Regions from separate parts of the Homo sapiens genome. Here all the other regions are linked to region 2. The links are contacts of gene promoters, found by promoter capture Hi-C in human tissues and cell types (Jung and others, 2019). All regions are on one chromosome and are shown on one strand. The core of a region is centred on a gene start or on the middle of the fragment in contact, and the rest is flanking DNA. Distances in the headings are between cores, read along the strand shown.

Region 1 (4,434 bases), core at 662-3,161, 260 kb after region 2:
CTGAATCTGACGCTGTCTCACCTGATTCTTCACTGGCGTCACGTAGCCTTTCTTTCTCCAATCCACAGATTTGGGAAGATCAAGAAACAGAGGCTCACGGAACACTTTCCCCTTCCTGAATTTCTGGTTTCGAAAGCAACCCATCATCTGCCTGAATTCTTCATTGGTCTTCAAGGAGAAGTAAATAAAATGTTAAAAGCAAGACTATTTTGGTGAAGAACTGAGAAGCAGCACAGAGTTCAGCAATCCTTGCCACACTCACCATGTCACCAAAAGCATTCATGGCCATTGTGAAGCCATGTTTCCCTTGGCTGTATTCCCCATTGTGCAGTTCAATCATTTTCATATTCTTTTCCCACACTGCTCTCCTCCATCCTTCTTCATTCTAGAGGCAAACATATAGCTGGTGGACTTTATGTCTACTTACCCAACCCATGTTCACCAAGCCGATTTGCGGGCAGAAATGGAAGAGAAACCATGGCCAGGGATGGGTTGATACTTCTCTGGGAGCTGTTCTCCAAGCCAAGACACAATGGAGATATATGCCCATATTGCACCTATAATGGGTGCTGTTAGGTTATTGCCTGGTAAGGTCTGGTGTCTAGAAGCTACTCTCTGGCTATCAACTCCCAACAGCGAGGACCATTCTCTCCAGAGTCCCTCTGGACAGTTTCAGATGTTACCAACCGCGCCATATAATCTTCTGTGTGTTGCCTTCCACTGGTACCACTTTGTATCCAAATTTTGGTCAAATTTTGGAACAGCGGAGGCTATTCCCAAGCAAAAGGCAGCCAGGACGAGCGAAAGATTCATGTTTCAAAACCTAGAAAGAGAAAAGAAATGAGTATCTGATTAGACCAATCCTAAAAAGCCATCTTACAGCCCCCGTGGAATAGAAATATTTCAATTATTCTCCCTAGCATTTCCCCAAGGACTGTGGAAGAGGCTGAAACAGGCCAAGTGGAGGTATTTGATGGGCCCACCAAAATTAAAAGCAGCCTGCAGAGTTGGAGGCGTTGAAACAGCATATGCGATAATTTAGGGTATGAGAAGGGTGTGAAAGATACCTGACGGGTGAGAAGCTTAAGGCAACAACTAGAAAACTAGGAAAGAGTTGGTCCAGGTTTTGCACCAATTGTACTGAGGTCATCCAGGCAAAACCTCACTAATGAAGACGTACCATCCCAAGTAGATGCAAGCGGATCCCCAAGGAACACCACCTCACACCTTCTTGGCTGATACACAGCAGGAGATGAGCTATGTCTTCCAACCTCTCCTTTTGGAATAAAACCTTTCGGGAATCCCTTTCCAGGAGACACTGGGAAGGAGAGCACCCACTATTCCCGCCGTCCCACACTTGGGTCTGTGCTACTCGCTCCCCTAAACCGGGGCAGGGTCACAAGGCCGCGCCGCTGGAAGCCAGGGGCCCCAGGGCCAGGGCCCGGACCGAGGCAGGCAGCTCCCGGAGCTCCGGGCGGGCCAGGACCGGGGCCGCACCGCCTGCTCTCGCCCTCTGCACGCGCCGCCGCGCCCCGAGAATGTTTGCGGCGGTGCAGGGAGCGGGGGCTCCGCGGCCAGGCTGGGGGCATGAAGCCGCCCGGTCCGGTCCGGCTTCAGCCCACAGGATGACTGACCTGCCCCGCCCGGGCCCTCCCAGTGGTGCCGGCGCCTCCCTGGGGTCTCCAACCGCCCTCCCCCGTTCCCCACCTCGAGGCTGGCAGAGCTCCGGGCAGAAGCTCTCACTCCCAGAAGCGCCCGCCTCCTCTCAGTGTCCCTAAAGGGGGGTTCCCTCCTCCAGTCCCCCTTCGCCCTGTCCCTCGGTCTGGTCGGGGGCGCTCACCAGCAGCCGTCGCAGCTGCGCAGGCACCCTCAGCAAACAAGCCTCTGAGATTACAGACGTCCGCGGTCTGGTGCAGGTTCGCCCGCCTCGGGATTTAAGTTTCCAGGCGGCCTTCCCCGCCCCCACCGCCTTCCCGCGCTGCGATTGGCTGTGCCGGCCACTGGGCGGGGCCCCGGGCGCTTAGAGCCCGCGCGTGACGCAGCCCAGTCCCAACCCGTCTCAGGTCTGGGCGCGCCTACCTCAATACACCCTGGCTGCGGGAAGCTGGGCCGGGCGCCCGGGGGCTGCGCGGAGGAGGGGGAGGCGCCTCCCTCAAGGGCTCAGATCTACTGACTATCCCGACTTACTGCGCTGAGCGGGTGGTTTACAGCGAGCTCTGTGTGGTATTTCAGTCCCTACTTTAACTTAGTCCTAGAGTTTTTGGTGAAAATCTGCAGGGCCGGGAGCCAGGGTACTCTCGTTCAGTGGCTCCTGTTTAGTCCACGGCAAAGGTGGGACGGAGTGGAAGAACGCACAGCCCCCAGCAGAAGCATTACCTTCCACTTAAGGGTGGGTGCATCAGGGCTTTAGAAGAATCTGGTAAGGAAAGGCACTCCCAAAACACGGGATGGATGGTCGAGACCGGACACCAGGAGGGACGGGACTAGCTGATAGGGTGTCCAGAGACCGCGGAGCGTTTTGTGGTGCGTCCTTCCCAGTCTGTTGCATTCAGGAATTCTTCCTTCTCCCATGTCTTTCAATACCAAAAAAAAAAAAAAAAAAAAAAAAAAGAGTTACAGAAATATTTGGTTAATAAAAAAGAGAAAAGCGTTGAGAATGGTGAAATAAATTGCTTTAAAAATTTTTCTTTTGTAGAAATGGAGTTTGGCTAAGTTTCCTTAGGCTGCTCTTGAATTCCTGGCCTCAAGCGATCCTCCCCTCTCAGCCTCCCAAAAGTGGTGGGATTACAGGCGTGAGCCACTACGCCCAGTCTGAGAGTGGTGGAAATTGCTTTTACTTACCTACTCTCTGCTTATGGGTTACAACGTCTCTTCCTCAGTATTCAAAGTGTGCTTCTTTTGAGATTTAATAAATTTACTTTAAAAATGTTTAATACCGGCCGGGCGCGGTGGCTTACACCTGTAATCCCAGCACTTTGGGAGGCCGAGGCGGGCGGATCACGAGGTCATGATATCGAGACCATCCTGGCCAACATGGTGAAACCCTGTCTCTACTAAAAATGCAAAAATTAGCTGGGCGTGGTGGCGGGCGCCTGTAGTCCCAGCTACTCAGGAGGCTGAGGCAGGAGAATTGCTTGAACCCGAGAGGCGGAGGTTGCAGTGAGCTGAGATCGTGCCACTGCACTCCAGACTGGTGACAGAGCGAAACTCTGTCTCAAAAAATAAAAATAAAAATAAAAATATATAATATCAGGGTTGAGGTGATGCAGTTTGAGGAACTGCTCTTTATGGAGAAATATATGTAGCTAAAGATTTAAGGAAATCATTAATAATTCAGAAACGTTTCTAATTCTTTTTAAAGTTATATAAAAAAATCCATTATAAAAAATATGTTTTAGAAAATAAACGTCCCTTGTGCCCTCTCCATAACCCTTTTCTAGGCATATCTTTTTTTGTTTTTACAAAAATGAAGTTATAATGCATATTGATTAATAAACTCTTAAAGATTAAATTGAATAATATCCACAGTTTTTACTTGTTAATTTGAAAATTTGTGAAATCAAGTTTAGCCTAAAGCTGCCTCCCCATGTGATTTAAGTTTGGCCTAAAGGTTTCTCTGTACATAGCGAATTGTAATCTAAATGGAGGTGTAAACAGACTGTAGCCTGCTCTTGTGCCTATCCCCGAATTTCTGTAAATCAAAGAGGTTCAGTTGTTCAAACCATGTTCAAATAAGGCAAACATGGAGCTGTATCCAATCCTGCAGTTTCTGTGCCTCACTTGCCCTTTTCTGTCTATAAATCTTCCCCCATGTGGCTGCACTGGAGTCTCTCTGAGCCTACTCTGGCACTGGAGGCTGCCAGATTCACGAATTGTTTTTTGCTCAATTAAATTCTCTTAAATTTAATTTGGCTATGGATTTTCTTTTAACAAATTAAAAACAATTAAACTGACAACTTTTCAGAAGCACCATCAGGCAAATACATCTTTTTAAAAATCAATTTATTAATAATTATATGTCCTTCCTTTAAATAAATAGCAGCTTTTCCCTCTCAAATACAACTAGGGGCCAAAGCTGTCAGGTGGTTATATAAAAAATACAAAAGTATATTGTATTGCAGGCCAAGGTAGGTGGATCTCCTGAGCCTGGGAGTTTGAGACCAGCCTGGGCAACATGGCGAAATCACACCTCTACCAAAAATACAAAACAAACAAACAAAAATTAGCCAGGCATGGTGATGCATGCCTGTAGTCCCAACTACTTGGGAGACTGAGGTTGTAGTGAGCGGAGCAGAGCATGCGCCACTGCACTCCAACCTGGGTGACAGAGCGAGATGCCGTCCCAAAAAAAAAAAAAAAAAAAAAAAAGCATCTTGTACTTGTACTGCAAATTTGCCGTCTCAAAAAAAAAAAAAAAGCATCTTGTACTGCAAA
Region 2 (4,368 bases), core at 1,106-3,605:
TTTTTGTGATTCTACAGGTTCAGGATAGAGGCAACCTTAGTAAATTTCTAGATGCTACATGTGATGGATGTTGTGTGAGAGTGACTCAGAATCTGGAAAGAGTGAGGCAAGAATGAAGAAAATGGGGGCTCTATGAGGAGGATTAGAGACAATTTCCTCAGCCCTGGCTGGTTATGCCTTCCTTGGAGACCATGGAGAAAAGCCCTCCAGTAATGTGGCTTTTCCTGTGCAGTCTGACAGTCACCCACGCCTCTCAACCCCAGCTTACCACCTTCTGCAAGTTGGCCCACAGTGTTCAGTGTCACACAATCTGTGATGGCTTCTGGATGTGGCGACATCACCAAGTCTGGTGCTCTCTGGGCAAGGGGATGAAGAAGTGCCGCTGGTTGGGCAAATCAAGACCTGCTCCTTTCTGGGTTCTTCTGCATCTGTTTGGAAGCCCTGGTGAGGAGGTCTCTGTTCTGTCAGAGAGCAGTTCTTCGGTGGGACTCCTGTTCCTGGGGCTCCCTCCTTCCTGCAACATAAAGAGCTGCTTTGCTCCAGAGAAGCTGGGGCTGATGCCTGGGTAACAAATTTATTTTAGTTGAAACTTTCATGGAAAACAGTGTTCTTCACGTCAGCACAACTTCCATTTTGGGCTGGATAATCCTCTGACATAAGGAGTGGTCCTGTGCATTGCAGGATGTTTAAGAGCATTTCTAAACATGCACTAGACACTAGGACACCCCTTCTCCCTGTTGTGACAATCAGAAACGTCTCCAGGCCGGGCGTGGTGGCTCACGCCTGTAATCCCAGGACTGTGGGAGGCCAAGGCAGGTGGATCACCTGAGGTCAGGAGTTCAAGATAAGCCTGGCCAATATGGTGAAACCCCACCTCTACTAAAAATACAAAAAATTAGCTGGGCATGGCCATGCATGCTTGTAATTCCAGCTGAGATTACAAGCTGGGAGGCTGGGGCAGGAGAATCAGTTGAACCTGGGAGGTGGAGGTTGCAGTGAGCCAAGATCACACCACTGCCCTCCAGCCTGGGCGACAGAGAGAAACTCAGTCCCCTCTCCCCCCACCAAAAAAGTCTCCAACATTTCCAAAGTTCCCTAGGGAGCAAAATCCTCCTGGTGAAGAAGTGACCTAAGGCCTTAAACCTGATTCTCTTGGCATTAATTAGAACCCTGCTATCCATGACTACAGCCTCCAATCACATCAACTACTGAGCACTGGAAATGTGGCTAGGACCACATGTTGAAATAACATTTTGGATACACTGAGAAAACCACAGTATGTTCTTAAAATTAATTTCATGTTTTAGATTTTCATGTAGCTACTAGTTTAACATTTAAAATTACGTATGTGACTCATCTTCACTGCCCTAGAATATCAGACTGACTTCTAAAGACAGAGACAGGAGGGACAGCACAGGAGGTGGCAGGGGCCTCAGTCTAACCCAGAGGCTCTGGAGACATCCCAGAAACCCCACAACAAATACACTTGCCACATAGTAAGATTCTGTCCACACTGACTTCACAATCATTGTCCTGGGGTTTTGGGGACAATCACTCAGTGCTGTGAAGGCTGCAATGCTGGGTTAGGTAGGTAGGCCATTACAAACAGCCTGATTCGGGGAGTAAAGTGTTTATGTATTGACATCCTAGCTCTCTCATCCTTTGTGAGCTTGGCTCTATCTTTTCACTCCTCCTTCTTCATTTTTAATGATATAAATAGGGTGGTTGTGAGAATTAAACGAAATACTACATGAAAAGAACAAAGTGTCTTCCAAATATAACGGGAATCAACATTTACATGCTGCTTAGTAACTAGCGCTTAGCTAAATGCTTTACAGGGGATGGCTTACCTCTGAACGACACAAAGCAGTTTTTACTAATATCCTCATTTTCAAACGCTCAAGTGACAGAGCCAAAATTCACGAGGTCCTTCTAGCTCCTAGGCTCGGCCTCTCACCGCAGACCCACGGGCTGTACGCGCTTTGTGGCAGGTTCATGGTCAATACAATAAACGCGCATTCCCCTCCTGAAGCCAGCACCGCGTTTTCCGACGCCTGGCTGCATTCTGGCGCCCATACCTCGGCCCGCACCGAGCATCTTCCAACTAGGACTCAGCCCCACCTAACGCCCCCGGAGCCCGCCCCCACCGGCCCTTCTCAGGCTGAGGTCCCGGGCCGGCCGAGGCACAGGGAGCGACGGCCTGCTTTGGGGGAGTTCCCGGGACGTCGCGTTCCCGCCCCCTGGACACTAGCACATCCCTCCCTGCAGGTCCGCAATCCGCGTGGAGGCCCGGCGCTCTCACCTGAGCTGCGAACCCTCTGCACCAGCAAACACTAACAGGGAGAAGCCGGAAAGTGGGGTTGACTGCACATGCGCAGACGAAAACGCGCATATCCGTTCCCAGCATGCTGCGCGGTAACCCATAACATGCAAGACTACGTTTCACATGCAGTACGGCGCCAGCTGTCAGTGTTTTTTTGTTTGTTTTTCCCCCAAGATTTATGGCGTAATAACATGGACCGTCCTGATAACTGGAGCCCGGGTTCTGTCAGAGCCCCAGAGGTTGTGGGTTAGACTTGATGACATAACAGCAAATGCAGCGTGTGGTTACAGAAAGCAAGAGCCGCGGAAGACGTTTGAAAACAATTGGGAAAATTTGTATACGGACTGGAAATTAGAATTATTAATTAATTGTGGCAGCATTGGGATTATGTAGGTAATCTTGCTTATTCATAAAGAGATGTCTATGTAAGTATTTAGGATTGTATTATGTTTGTAAGTTTTTGGGTTTTTTGGTTTTTTTTTTTTTTTTTGAGACGGAGTCTTACTCTGTCGCCCAGGCTGGAGTGCAGTGGCGCGATCTCGGCTAACTGCAACCTCCGCCTCCCGGGTTCAAGCGATTCTCCTGCCTCAGCCTCCCAAGTAGCTGGGACTACAGGCGCCCGCCACTACGCCCAGCTAATTTTTGTATTTTTAGTAGAGACGGGGTTTCACCATGTTGGCCAGGCTGGTCTCGAACTCCTCACCTCAAGTGATCCGCCTGCCTTGGCCTCCCAAAGTGCTGGGTATACAGGCGTGAGCTACCACTCCCGGCCCGTTTGTAAGTTCTTTTTAAAAAATAATTAGAAATGGGAAGTATGGCAAAATGTTAAGAATATCTACTTCTAGAATATGGACATGCTTATTGACTATGTGTTGGAAAATTTTATAATATAAAGTTGATAAAGGGAAAATTGGGACTGTAATGTTACAAGTGTGCCTTTTAACTTAGAGCTGCCACAAAAATACATAAACAGCTTTGTGAATAAAGCCGTAAAATGTAACAAATACTAGAAAATGGAAACCATTATTAACATAAAAGAATAATATTTGTGATCCTCAGTTTATCTCTGGGGGGAAAAAAAGAAAAAGCAAGTAAGCTGTTCAGCATTACATAATACCTGAAGTACACACAATCCCAACTAAGAAAACCGTTATCCACAAATTATGCATCTCCTAGAGATGAGCTTGCTTAAATCTTATGTGGTATGCTTCTGAAATCAGGAACCAAATTAGGAACCTCTCAGCACAGTATTTTATGACACTCTTTTTAGTAACACACATACACTCACACACACACGGTTGATACTTTCTAACAGGTTATTTTATATGGCAATGATAAGTTTTGATTAGCAAGAAAAAAGATTAATGGCAACAGTAAACTAGTGCAGTATATATGAATCAAGGTATAAAATTTTACTGTTGACACTGAAAAACACTTTAATAGATACTGGAGGAAAAGACTAACATTTGTTTTTAAAAATTCTAATCATCTATGTTTTCTAAGTATATATTTTCTTTTTTTGACATTTATATATTTTGCCTGTTTTCCTAAAGGAACTATTCCAATTTTCATTCTAATAAAAACTTATGGTAATGATCAGAAAAGAATTGAAAATGCATAGCAATATCTCTATATTTACTATGTATACTATCACTAAATATTTAAAAATTTATCCTGGTGCAGTAAAAGTTCAACTATATGAAAAAGAAAGAATGTAGTATGTATCAGCTGGCTTTTAAAGCAGTGGAAAGAGAACCTTCAGTAACCTTGTTAGGACAATGAGATAGGTGCTGGGACAAAGGACATATCCATGGCACTAACATTACAATCAATAATTTTCACAAGGATTCATTCAACAATAAGCAATTAATAATATCAAAGTTTTAAATTTTTAAATTATACATTTCTTAAGTTTTTAAGAGAAACAGGTGTTTTAAAAAGATAAACCCTTTAATTCCTTTCCAAGGAAAGTCTCGCCCTTCACATCTGTCTGAAGGCTGAGACCTTGCCTGGTGCCCAAAGAGCTGCTCTCCGCCAACTTCCAA
Region 3 (3,891 bases), core at 1,299-3,798, 450 kb before region 2:
GACCATCCCATCCACAGCACCTGCCCCGGAGCCACTCAGACCCAGATCAGAGGAGAGAGCTGCACAGCAGCGGGAGCACAGCACAGGGCCCAGCCCAACGCAGGGGCAGAGAGGAGCTTCCTGCAGGCCGCCTATGCACCAGCACAGCCTTAAACCAAGGACAGCATGGATGTTCTTTATTTCCACTTTTGCTTTAAAATTCCAACTCCAGGGTTCCAATCATGCAACATTTTCTCCATCCTCCATTTTTCTTTTCTTAAAAAAGGGTTGGGGGGAACCTCATCTCTTGACAAGATCTGGCTATATTACCCAGGCGGGACATGAATGCCTGGGTTCAAGTGATCCTCCCGCCTGTCTTCCAAGTAGCTGGGACTACAGATGTGTGTCGTCACACCCAGCTCCATCTTAGTGAAACCACCTCAGCCTGCATTCAGAATCAGAAGACATCATGGATCTAAGATCCCAGCACCCATCCATCATGAGTGTGGGTGACTAGGACATCACTCACCAGCTGGGCTGAGCCAAGGGAGGAGAATCCCTCCCTAACATTCTGGAGTGAGCCTCAGTGAGCAGCCATCCTCCTTAGCAACAGATGGCGGCTAGATAGAAGGGCTGCACTTCTTTTTTCTTTTTCTTTTTCTTTTTTTTTTTTTTAAAGATGGGGTCTCACTCTTTCGCCCAGGCTGGAGCGCAGTGGTGTGATCATGGTTCACTGCAGCCTCCACCTCCCAGGCTCAAGCAATCCTCCCACCTCAGCCTCTCAAGAAGCTGGGACTACAGGTACACATCACTAAACTTGGCTAATTTTTAAATTTTTTCTAGATACAGAGTCTTGCTATCTTGCCCAGGCTGATCTGGAACTCTGGGGCTCAAGCAATCCTCCCTCTCTGGCCTCCCAAAGTGCTGGGACTATAGGAATTAGTCACCACTCCCAGCTTGCACTTCTTAATATACCCACTAGATGTCCCCAGAGAGGGCAAATATAGAACCACCAGGCTCAAAGTAGCAGTATATTACATTTTTTAAAAGAATCTATTTCTATATGCAAAAAAAACTTGCATAGTTCTTTGGCCAAAACCAAGACTTTGAACTAAAAGAACCTTCGTTAACTCAGTACTCAGTGCAAGGGAAACCTCACCACTTTTATTACTGAAAATATCAACCTCCACATGACTAGCTTTGATTTTACTATCTGTAGATTAATAAAATACAAAGATATTTAAAAGTATTGCTGAATTCTTAGTAACCTTTTTTACCATTCTATATTTTTTAGATAGGGTCTCACTCTGTTGCTCAGGCTGGAGTACAGTGGCACAATCACAACTCACTGGGCTCACATGAGCCCAGCCTCCATCTTCTGGGCTCAGGTGGTCTTCCCACCTCAGCCTCCCAAAGTGCTGGGATTACAGGTGTGAGCCACCACGCCCAGCGTGCTCTGTATTTTGAAGTCATGATATTATCTGTGTACATTTGAAATATAACAGCACATACATCTGATGCACATTTATTCAGACAACAGAGGCCAGCTGAGTGTTCTGCTTCTAGGGCCCCCAGGGTGGAGGTGCCCAAGTAGAAACTCCTGGACCAGAGCCTCTGCTCAAAGCCTTCTTCTTCCTGTTCTAAAAACAGCACAAAAAGTAACTGCCTTACCCAACATTGTGGCAGTCACAAACAGAACTCAAATGACCTAGTTTATACCTTGTCACTGATTACCGTTCCCTGCCCCAACAAATATAGAAACTCAACAAACGTTCAAATATTCACAGGCCACTTTTGCATTCTTTCCACCATCCACAATGGTACCCAAGCACATCATTCTCTTATAATTCCAGATTTCAAAGAATTCCAAGGAACCCCATCCTCACCATCTCTAGGAAGAACTCACTCCTAAGAACTCACAGAGTGCCAGCCTGGACAACATGGTGAAACCCCGTCTCTACTAAAAATACAACAATTAGCTGGGCTTGGTGGCTGGAACCTATAATCTCAGCTACTCAGGAGGCTGAGGCAGGAGAATCGCTTGAACCCAGGAGGCGGAGGTTGCAGTGAGATGAAATCGCGTCACTGCATTCTAGCCTGGGCAAACAGAGTGAGACTCCATCTCAAAAAAAAAAAAAAAAGACATTATTTATGTCTTTTAAAGGACAGAAATTCTACAAGATTGAATAATTTGGCAGGAGACATTTACATATATACACACACACATATACATATATACTTTTATATATATAAATACACACTTTTTTATATATATACTTTTTTTAGAGACAGGCTCTCCCTCTGTTGCCCAGGCTGGAGTGTAGTGGTGCCATCATAGCTCACTGCAGCCTCAAACTCCTGAGCTCAAGCAATCCTCCTGCCTCACCCTCCTGAGTAGCTGGAACTACAAGAACATGCCACCACATTTGCCTAACTTTTTTCTGTAGAAATGAGTTCTCATATGTTGCCCAGGCTGGTCTCAAACTCCTGGCCTCAAGTGATCCTCCCACTCAGCCTCCCAAACAAAGCTTTGGGGCTACAGGCATGAGCCACTGTGTCTGGCATAGATTTCTTGTATTTCTCACCTGCATTTTCACATCTATGATCTTCAAAACACTCCTCCACTGGTACTTGGAGAGTGGCTGTGGCCCACGGATTTTGTAAGCATACGCTGTCCATTTGCAAGTTTGATAATTGCTCAGCCATTGCAATTAAGCAATGTTCTGCTTTTGCGGCACCAATAATAACTAGCTTTTAAACTTTTATTTTTCACAGCCCTTTTGTGAGAGAACATTTTCACAGATCTTTTCTGTTGTGTTGTTAGGAATACAGTAAGAAGGAATGATATTTGGCTTCCTCAATAAAGGAATCTATATTAGTCAGCGTTCCCCAGAGGAACGGAACCAATAGAACACACAAGTATAGATATATGAGAGGGGATTTATCAGGGGAATTGGCTCCCACAATTATGGAGGCTAAAAAGTCCCAAGACAGGCCATCTGCAAGTTGGAGACCCTGAGATGCCAGTAGCGTGGCTTAGGCCAAGTCCAAAGGCCTGAGAACGAGCGAAGCCTTTGGTGTAACTTGGTGGTCCAAGGCCAAAGGCCTCCTGACCACAGACTGCTGGTGGAAGCCCTAGATTCCCAAGGCCAGTGAGCCAGGAGTTCTGATGTCCAAGGCAGCAGAAGAAAGTCTGTCCCAGATTTCAAAGAGGGATGGATTCGCCTCTGTATTTGATCTCTCCATGCCCATGGCCAATTGGCTGGTGCCTGCCAACCATGAGGGCAAATCCTCCCCACCTGGTCCACTCAGACTCACAGGCCAATCTCCTGTGGAAACCCCCACACATATACACACACACAGACACCTAAAATAAAGCTTCACTGGGTTCCCAGGTATTCCTTAATCCAGTCGAATTGATACCTGAATTTAACTCCACAATTCCCCCTGCTTGTCAATTGGCACCCACAGGCATCGCCTTAAACCATACTTAAGTTTCCGAATGAAGACAGTAACAAAGAAATTTTGTTATTTAGTTGCATCCATCTGATGTGACACAACATGTATCCTGCATACAACAGAAATACACAATCCCTTCCCCAGAATTCAGCTTTCAGGATTTCAACATTTGAGATTCTACTCTTTCAGGATTATAATTTTTTGAAGTTAGATCTTTTGGGGGTTATGGCATTCAGGATAGTGTTGTGAAAGGAAAATTAAATCTCAGAACCCCAAACTCACAATGCCAAAGGGAGAAGTTAAGTCTGGAAACTGAGTCACACAAAAACTGCCTTCCATTCTGTTCCTCAATAGATAGCTGCAAAGAGAGAGGGCCACACATCTCCCCAGGTGGCCTCCCTCGCAAATTGCTCACAAGGAAGTTCCTTGCAGTTCCCAAAATCTTCACCCTAA

The links. Contacts are between HindIII fragments. The study calls those that stand out against the background at their distance.
Region 1: the fragment with the promoter of CTSV here is called in contact with the fragment with the promoter of ZNF510 in region 2 in 1 of the 25 tissues and cell types used here (adrenal gland).
Region 3: a contact is called between a fragment that was not itself captured here and the fragment with the promoter of ZNF510 in region 2, in 1 of the 25 tissues and cell types used here (IMR-90 fibroblasts).

Annotation. Positions count from the first base shown.
Region 1 is chr9:97,037,231-97,041,664 of GRCh38, forward strand. CTSV (cathepsin V) reads right to left here and starts at 1,912. Exons shown (of 8, transcript NM_001333.4): 1 at 1,841-1,912; 2 at 688-823; 3 at 263-385; 4 at 22-168. The coding sequence starts at 813. RefSeq lists a silencer at 1,947-2,256. The HindIII fragment of the contact is 6,962 bases long and covers 1-4,434 here.
Region 2 is chr9:96,775,732-96,780,099 of GRCh38, forward strand. ZNF510 (zinc finger protein 510) reads right to left here and starts at 2,356. Exons shown (of 6, transcript NM_014930.3): 1 at 2,303-2,356; 2 at 269-514. The coding sequence starts at 338. RefSeq lists a silencer at 2,117-2,216. The HindIII fragment of the contact is 14,118 bases long and covers 1-4,368 here.
Region 3 is chr9:96,326,985-96,330,875 of GRCh38, forward strand. All of the region lies in intron 9 of SLC35D2 (solute carrier family 35 member D2), which reads right to left. All of the region lies in intron 9 of SLC35D2-HSD17B3 (SLC35D2-HSD17B3 readthrough), which reads right to left. Among named protein-coding and RNA genes, the nearest start is that of HSD17B3, 27 kb to the left of the region's middle. The HindIII fragment of the contact is 3,616 bases long and covers 741-3,891 here.